Regions from separate parts of the Homo sapiens genome. Here region 1 is linked to region 2. Evidence: promoter capture Hi-C in human tissues and cell types (Jung and others, 2019). All regions are on one chromosome and are shown on one strand. The core of a region is centred on a gene start or on the middle of the fragment in contact, and the rest is flanking DNA. Distances in the headings are between cores, read along the strand shown. Region 1 overlaps SEZ6L (seizure related 6 homolog like). Region 2 holds the start of CRYBB2 (crystallin beta B2).

Region 1 (4,740 bases), core at 1,084-3,583, 1.1 Mb before region 2:
GAAGCAAGAAAGCAGGAAGCAAGCAAGCAAGCAAGAAAGAAAGAGAAAGAGAAATAAGGAAGCAAGCAAGCAAGAAAGAATCAAATGAATCAGGTGGAGCTTCCGTGTGTGTGTGTGTGTGTGTGTGTGTGTGTGTGTGTTTATGCACGTGCATGCGTGTGTGTATGTGTGTGTGAGATAAGCAGAGTATCAAGGGATTTTCCTTCTGGGAAATACCTCAGAATTTGTCAGCATGTTCCCTCTATCCCCACAAGCTATTTTAGCAAAGCATTGAGTTAAGAACTCCTACTCATTCGCCAAAACCCAGCTAAAGTTGGCCTGGTTGGGCAAAGACAGAACCAAACTAGTTAGCATAACAGTAAGCCTGACTCAGACAATCCTCCTGAGACTTCCTGCTAGACGAGGCAGCCTCTGTGAGGTACTCTCCTGGGGTTACCTGGAGCTCCACCCCATAGCCAGTGTAGACTGTCACGTTGTATGTGCACTCCAGAAAGTTGTTGAGGGGCAGCAGTGGGTAGTCGCTGGAGTCAATGTACCCCTCAGGATTGGAGAAGCTCACACTGCAGAGAGCTGGAAGGAAGGACTTTAATTAGGACACCAAAGACAACTTGGATGTAAGCTCAACCATGGGCTGTGGGGTGGAATGGGGGCTTTAGGGGAACCTGCATTTTGCTGTTCCCATCTGTCCTTCTGCTGTTAATTCCTCAGCTCCAGAATTGACATGATAATAAAAATAGCAATAATTGACACAGAATGATCACTTACTATATCCTGCTAGGCACCATTTTAGCTAGTCAACAGGGGTGACCCCACTTATTCTCATAGGGACTGATAATATTTCATCCCCAGTTTAGAGGGAAGTAAACAAAAGCTCAGAGAGGGGCCGAGCTCAAACAGCAAGCAGGATTTGGACCCAGAGCTCACGTGCTTTGAAGGGTGGCCACATTGCACTTGTCCAAAATCCATGTATGCTTGACAATTGGGGGTCCTTCTCCCATTTTAAAGATGGTAGAGAAGACTGGAACACAGAAGAGCATTTTATCAAGTCTAGAAAATACATGTAATGCTAAAAGCAAATGTGCTTTGAAAAGGCTAGTGGCTTTGAAGCAGGTTAAATGAAGAATTCCGTTCCAAGATGAAAAGGTTTTGAATCTTGCTCATTAGCTGTGTGACCTTTGGCAGGTTGCTTGGGGGTCTCAGGGTTTCAGTTGTCTCATCTTTAAAATGGGGATGTTGGCTGAGTGTCCTGGCTCATGCCTGTAATCCCAGTGCTTTGGGAGGCTGAGGTGGGAGGATTGCTTGAGCCCAGGAGTTCCCCAGCCTGGACAATAAGCAAGACCCCCTTTCTACAAAAAACAAAAAAATTAGCTGGACATCATAGTGCATGCTTGTAGTCCCAGCTACTCAAGAGGCTGAGGCAAGAGGATCACTTGAGCACAGGAGTTTGAGGCTGCAGTGAGCTATGATCGTGCCATGGCACTCCAGCCTGGGCGAAAGATCAAGACCCCTTTGCTAAAACAACCCCCCAAAACAACAAACAAATGAAATGAGGCTATTAATTCTGAGCCACAGGGCGAAGCTCATAGTCAGTGCTCAATGGACGGTAACTGATGGTGGGGCCGGGGCTTCTTGAGATTCCTCTACCCACATGCCCTGAACATAGTGAGTGCCTCATGGCTGTTTCAGGATGGCTTCAGGAGTTGGGGGCTGCATACCTGGTGCCTGCTCGGTGGTGATGACCGTGGTGGTGATAATGGTGGAGGTAGTGGTCTCCTGGCTCTCCTCTGAGGCTGACCCAGTCAGCTCATTCTCACCTTTGTCCATCAGGGCCATGGGGCTGGTGTCCTCCTGGGGGGCCTCCTGGGCCATGTCAGGCCCAGGCTCCCCGGGTTCTGGCCTCTGGGGGAGTGTGTGGGCCACATAGGGCTGCGAAGTGAAGGGGGAGATTTGCAGGGGTGCGGGTGTTGTAGGGACCGCACTCTCCTTTCGGTCCAGCCAAAGGGGCACTTCTGATGCCTCCTCGGAGGCCACGATGGGGTCCGGGTCCCCCGGTGGGCCAGGCTTCTCCGTGGAGGAGGAGAGGAGATCTAGGCCCTGGGACGCTGGCTGGGACCCTGCCCTTTGGACAGTGGCTGCGGAGGTGGCCTTGGGCCTCAGCTGCTTCCTGGCAGAGTTCACCTGCTTGAGCGAAGGCAGTTTCTTCTTGGGGGGCAAGGCGTGCTTGGGGCGGGCCTCCTCTGGAAGCAGCGGTGACAGGGCTGGGATGTCGTGATGTGCAGAGGGTGCGGTCCCATCCAGCACCAGCTCGCCCAGCACTTCCGCCGACTGTGAGGAACTGGGGGGCGCTGTTACCACTCTCTCTTCAGGGTGCTCTTTGCCAGGACTGCCTCTCTCCGGGGCTCCTGAGGGCAGGAGGTAAGGACCCAAAGGGCTAGCATCTCCCTCGGGAAGAGCATCTTGGAAGAGGAGAAAAGACACCAGTTAGTTTGGGGAGATTTAGGACCTTCACCTGCTGTCAGACTCTGAGGGTGGCCCTCCTAAGGGCGGTGCCCAAAGCTCGTCCGGCTGGCCTCTAAACCAACTTCTCCTTTCTCCCTCCCTCCCTTCCTTTCTTTTTTCTCCTCCTTCCCTCTCTCCCTCTTTCTCTTTTCTTCCTTCTTTTCCTCCCACCCTCCCTCCTTCCTTCTTTCCTTCCTCCTTCCTTCCTTCCTTCCTTTCTTTCTTTCTTTCCTCCCTCCCTCCTTCCTTTCCCCTTCCATTTTTTTCTTTCTTCCTTCCTCCTTCATTTTCTTCCTTCATTTCCTTCCTTCTTTCCTTCCATCCATCCTTCCTTCCTTCCTTCCTTCCTTCCTTCCTTCCTTCCTTCCTTCCTTCCTTCCTTCCTTTTCCTGAAGACTTGGGCTTGATCATGCCAGGACTGAGCTAAGCATTAGGAGTATAGAAACAAAAAGCACAGGGGCCTCACTGCCTGGTTGTATATGTACTGGGAAGGGGGATGGGAAAGTAGACACAATCATATTTGATATGATGAATGCTTGGAAAGAGAAAAGCTTGTGTGCTAAGAGAGCAGAGAGGACGGGCCCTAACCCCGTCTGCAGGACAGGCATGCCATGTACAGTTGGGCAGATTGTTCCCTGTACAAAGACATGCAGCTAAGAGGATGAGTGGGGATGGACACCAGGCCACACTCTCTTTTCTAAGCTGTGTGCTCTGGCTGGGCTTGGGGGATGGGGGAGGAGAGTTTTTTTAAATTTAAATTTTAATTTTAAGTTCTGGGGCCTATGTGCAGGATGTGCAGGTTTGTTATGTAGGTAAACATGTGCCATGGTGGTTTGCTGCACCTATCAACCCACGCTAGGTATTAAGCCCAGCATGCATTACCTATTTTTCCTAATGCTCTCCCCTCCCCCAACTCCACCCCGCAACAGGCCCCAGTGTGTGTTACTCCCCTCCCTGTGTCCATGTGTTCTCATTGTTCAACTCCCACTTATAAGTGAGAACATGTGGTGTTTGGTTTTCTGTTCCTGCCTTAGTTTGCTAGGGATAATGTCTTCCAGCTCCATCTATGTCCCTGCAAAGGACATGATTTTGTTTGTCTTTATGGCTGCATAGTATTCCATGGTGTACATGTACCACATTTTCTTTATCCAGTCTATCATTGATGGGCATTAGGTTGATTCCACGTCTTTGCTATTGTGAATAGTGCAGCAATGAACATGTGCATGCATGTATCTTTGTAACAGAATGATTTATATTCCTTTGGGTATATATGTAATGGGACCCAGTAATGGGATTGCTGAGTCAAATGCTATTTCTGGTTCCAGATCTTTGAGGAATCTCAGCACCATCTTCCACAATGGTTGAATTAATTTACATTCCCACCAACAGTGTAAAAGCAGGGTTGGGGGAGGTACATTTTAAACTGAAGGAATGTAAGAGTGACCTTGTGGGAGACACAGAAATGTTTTAGGATTCAGAGTCACGAGGCAGATTCAGAACAGAGGACTGTGTGAAGACCCATGGAGGCTTGGAGGCTGGGCAGAGGTGGGCACAAAAGAATTGCAAGGGGTTTTGGAGCACAAGTGGAGAGTACGGGGGATAAAGCTGGTAAGGTAGGGAGGCAGGGGCCAGGCCCTGGAGGGCCTTGTATACCTTGCTAACTTCTTGTAATTCATTTTGTTTTTTCTTGAGACGGATCTCACTATGGCTGGTTGCAAACTCCTGGGATCAAGTGATCCTCCCACCTTGGTCCCCATCCTTGCGATTTATTTTTGTCTGGAAGGTAAAACCATTTAGTCATTTTATTTTATTTTATTTTATTTATTTTTTTGAGACGGAGTCTCACTCTGTCGCCCAGGCTGGAGTGCAGTGGCGCGATCTCGGCTCACTGCAAGCTCCGCCTCCCGGGTTCACGCCATTCTCCTGCCTCAGCCTCCTGAGCAGCTGGGACCACAGGTGCGTGCCACCATGCCCAGCTAATTTTTTGTATTTTTTAGTAGAGACAGGGTTTCACCATGTTAGCCAGGATGGTCTCGATCTCCTGACCTCGTGATCCACCCGCCTCGGCCTCCCAAAGTGCTGGGATTACAGGCGTGAGCCACCGCGCCCGGCCCAATAGTCATTTTAAAGAAGGGCTGGCCCAGGCAGCTGTCTGGCAGAATGGTGCTGGAAACCAGCTTTGTTTGCTTTTTAAAGACCCAGTTCTGCCAATTGCTGGTTAATGACTTCACTCTCCAAGCC
Region 2 (4,468 bases), core at 813-3,312:
CAGAGGCTGGTACTGGGAATCCCAGCATGCCAGCTATGGGCTGGGGAGGGACTTTCAGTATCAGCTCCAACTGTGTGGGTAGAGGAGACTGAGTCCCAGAGAGGGGCAGGGGTCGAGAGGGGGTACCCATGAAGAAAGATGCCAAGCCCATTTTACAGAAGGGCAACTAAGTCTGGGGGAGGAGCATTGCATGCCCCCTCCTCTGAGAGGTACCCACCTTGGGGTTGAGGGACTGTGGCTTGCCCGCCTGGGTCTGGTGATCTGAGGCCATGGTGGACTGTCCTGTGCAGGAATGACCTGGAAGACATGGGAAGCAGCAGTGAGGACCTGGAGGGGCCACTGGCTTTTTCACTCTGTGGGGCCTTGAGACCACTCCCCTCTGGCCCCAAACATTCTCTTTTTCTCCTGGTTTCAGACTGTCCCAGAGCTGTGGGGTCCGTAAGCAGCTACTTCAACTTCTGTCCTTAGCTTCATTTATTTCTATCCAGGCCAGCTGCAGGAGGAGGGAAAAACGAGGTCTACTCAAAGAAAGAGAGCAGTAATAAACTAGAGCTTAAATGAGGTCCAAAGTGGGTTCCCAACACTCAACCCCAGACAATGGATACCACACAGAATATAGAATGGTCAATCCCAGAACTTCTGCCTTTATGCAGTAATTTCTTAAATAAAATTGTGTGGAACAAACAAAACCTATGCATTGGCTGTATTTGGTGGTGTGGTGGTGCCCAGTTTAGGAACTCACAAAGTTCCCTGTTCCCCTGCTCCTTCTCCCACCCTCTCCCTGGGACTCCTCTCCCCATCCTGGTACCTAGATTTCTCTTCTCTGCCACTGGTTTTACTCCCCCATTAGTGAAATCATCTGATACAGAACCCACATTACAAGAAAGAGAAGAAATGGGTGCGACGGTAGAAATCCAGGCACTGTGGCAGGCAGCAGGGTAGACCTGCCTTAGCTAGTGAGAACATCAGAAAAGCCTGGAAAATTGTCAGCCTCTTCCCCCTTCCTGCAGAAGGGGTGGTCAAACCAGGCTGTGTTTCCCCAGGGGTAAGAGAGGAAGCCTGGCCTCCCTCTTCAGAGATAACGCCAGCTTCCAGAAGCCCCTTCCACATGAAAGGCCAATACTGGATGTTTCCCAGGAGGAAGAAATGCAGTTAAGCACCTTGGCAGCCAAATCTACTGCTCTCCCGCAAGAAACCAGCCCTCTGGGCTTGTCAGAGTGCCTGAGGTCCTGCCATATCACTTCCCAGTCCTGAGTGTTCACAGACTGAAGAAGCTCAGTTGGTCCAGTTCAGGAGCAGTCTCTGCTGCCTGCCAGAATTGAGACTCTGGGCAGGTCTCATCCTCTCCCTATGCCTCAACTTCCTGTTCTATAAAATGGGGACAGTAATGATGTCTAATAATACCTGTGAACAGGTTGTGAGGATTCAATTATGTAATGTATAAAACCGGAAGCACTTGGCCGTGGTCCCAGAACACACTCAGCATGCAGCAAATGGCAGCAATTGTGGCATTATTAGAGTCATTTCTACCATGCTTTAGTGGCATTGAAATCACCTGTTGCTGGGACCTGTCACATACCTGTGGCTGCATCCTATCCCCTAGCACTCCCAGAGGCTAGGCACAGAGTGGGTGCCCCCTAATTGCAGATGTGGAGGAAAACTGACTCACCCACCTAGAAACAATGCTGAACTGTCACTGGTTTGATTCTTGCAAAACCCTCAGTTACATTCTCCTCCTCAGCGACTGGCGAAACAAGGATGCTGATAGTCTGTTTAATATTAATAATAAAGAACATTGCCCCAATGCCCACTGTGTGCCAGGCACTGTGCTGGATGATCCCCTAACTTCTCTTGAATCCTTACAATAAAGAAGGCTTTTTAACCCCCTTCCCAGTTACCAGAAAAGAAAACTGAGGCTAACAGCATTGAAGTCTCTGCCCAAAGTCACTTGTCAGAATCTGGGTGCTCCCATGCTTGCGGACAGGGGTGAGGATGAGAGAAAGAAGGGAAGACAAGCAAGAGAGGCAATCTTACCAGTGACACCAGCCCCTGCGAGTGCCGTGAAGCTCGGCCAGCGGGAGGTGGCATTTATACCTTCCCCAGAAGTGCCGGTGCCAAGATGAGTGACCGCTGTGCTCCTGCGAAAAGCAGGGTGAGAATGCTGGATTAAGCTCTCACCAAAGCTCGGGTCAGCAAATGCCCACAGACATTGTGTCTCTGCACAATAATGTCATTAGCTTTCAGATTCGGCCGCGCCAGGGCGGTCAGGCGGCTGGGCAAGGAGATGCCCGCTTTGCATGCATCAGCCGTCCGGCTGCCAGGGCCAGGGGTACGCTGGGTTCACTGGTACGGTCAGTCAGGCCGTGAGGCATGGCAGACAGAGGAACATCTCAGTGGGCCTGGGGAAGAACAAGTAAAGAAGGGTGGTTTGGCAGAGTCTGGGCTTCATTCATCTACCCATTTATTCATTCAACAAATATTTGTTGGGCATCCACTTGGTGACAATCTCTGTTCCAGGGGAGTGTCAGGAAGAGGACCTACGCCAGCCCAGGCCATTCAGAAAAGCTCCTGGGAGGTAGCGCATCCCTCAGGGATGGAGAAGAGGAAGCCTGGGAACAGGGTGGGGGGACAGTTCCAAGCAGAAAGGGTCCATATACAAGGAACCAGCATGGTGTATTTCAAGAAGACCTGAAAACAGGTTAACAAAGCTAAAGCATGACATGTGACAAATAGGGCCTGTGCCAGGTGGCCAAGGTGGGCAGGGCCTGATGTTGCAGGGCCAGGGAGGCCAATTATGGAGAGTGCATTTTATTCTCAAGGCCCCTGGCTGTTTCTCTTTCTTTTCTTTCTTTCTTTCTTTCTCTTTCTTTCTTTCTTTCTTTCTTTCTTTCTTTCTTTCTTTCTTTCTTTCTTTCTTTCTTCTCTCTCTCTCTCTCTCTCTCTCTCTCTCTCTCTCTCTCTCTCCCCTCTCTCTCTCTCTCTCTCTCTCTCTCCCCCTCTCTCTCTCTCTTTCTTTCTTTCTCTTTCTTTCTTTTGAGATGGAATCTCACTCTGTCACCCAGGCTGGAGTGCAGTGGTGTGATCTCGGCTCACTGCAACCTCTGCCTCCCAGGTTCAAGCGATTCTCCTGCCTCAGCCTCACCAGTAGCTGGGACTACAGGTGTGCGCCACCAGGTCCAGCTAAATTCTTTTTTTTGCTGTATCTTGTTAGAGACAGGGTTTTGACATGTTGCCCAGGGTGGTCTCAAACTCCTGAGCTCAGGCAATCCATCCACCTTGGCCTCCTAAAGTGCTGGGATTCCAGGCATGAGCCACTGCACCCGGCCTGTTTCTTAACCACTGTCCTAGAGTGAGTTGCTCTTAGATCCCTACCACTGGCCCCATCGCTGCCACATGGGTGCCCAGCCTTTACTCACATTTCTTTTCTATTTTTTTTTTTTTTGAGATGGAGTCTCGCTCTGTCGCCCAGGCTGGAGTGCAGTGGCACGATCTCAGCTCACTGCAAGCTCTGCCTCCCGTGTTCACACCATTCTCCTCCTTCAGCCTCCCTAGTAGCTGGGACTACAGGCGCCCGCCAACACGCCCGGCTAATTTTTTGTATTTTTAGTAGAGACGGTGTTTCACTGTGTTAGCCAGGATGGTCTCGATCTCCTGACCTCATTATCCGCCCGTCTCGGCCTCCCAAAGTGCTGGGATTACAGGCGTGAGCCACCGCGCCCGGCCTTTACTCATGTTTCTTTAGTGCACACACCTTCCTTGCAGCCCAGGCTGTGTCTTGATCCAATCTGAGGCTTGGAGACTGGGTCAAGTATACCTGCTTTCCCCTGTCTCTCATTTTCTTAATGCACATATGCATGCACACGCATGCACACACACTACACACACATGCCCCAGCCCCCTAGCTGGGCTTTTCCTTTTGCAGCACTCATCACTACCCAACATTCTGTTACTCATTTATTTTCTGTCTTTCCAATGAGAAGATAAGCACCACAAAAGCAAAGAAGTTGTCCCCCTGGTTTACCATGGTATCTCCAGAGCCCAGTGCCTGACGCATAGTAGGTACTTGTTTTAAAATCCCAGGGCTGGCCGGGCACAGCGGCTCACGCCTGTAATCCCAGCACTTTGGGAAGCCAAGCCAGGCGGATCACCTGAGGTTGGGAGCTCGAGACCTGCCTGAGCAACATGGAGAAACCCCGTCTCTACTAAAAATACAAAATTAGCCGGGCATGGTGGCACATGCCTGTAATCCCAGCTACTCGGGAGGCTGAGGCAGGAGAATCACTTGAACCCACGAGGCAGAGGATGCAGTGAGCCAAGATCATGGCATTGCACTCCAACCTAGGCAACAAGAGCAAAACTCTGTCTCAAAGAAAATAAATAAATAAATAACATAAAATAAATCCCAGGGCTGCTGTAATAAAGTGTCACAAACTAAGTGGCTTAAAAACAACAGAAATTGGGAATGTAA

What was found. The method cuts DNA at HindIII sites, captures the fragments that hold promoters and counts their contacts. A contact is called where the count stands out against the background at its distance.
Region 1: a contact is called between a fragment that was not itself captured here and the fragment with the promoter of CRYBB2 in region 2, in 1 of the 25 tissues and cell types used here (dorsolateral prefrontal cortex).

Annotation. Positions count from the first base shown.
Region 1 is chr22:26,290,122-26,294,861 of GRCh38, reverse strand. SEZ6L (seizure related 6 homolog like) reads right to left here. Exons shown (of 17, transcript NM_021115.5): 2 at 1,716-2,456; 3 at 437-570. Among named protein-coding and RNA genes, the nearest start is that of SEZ6L-AS1, 46 kb to the right of the region's middle. The HindIII fragment of the contact is 7,707 bases long and covers 1-4,740 here.
Region 2 is chr22:25,217,233-25,221,700 of GRCh38, reverse strand. It overlaps CRYBB2 (crystallin beta B2), which reads right to left and starts at 2,062. Exons shown (of 6, transcript NM_000496.3): 1 at 2,035-2,062; 2 at 218-297. The coding sequence starts at 271. The HindIII fragment of the contact is 11,576 bases long and covers 1-4,468 here.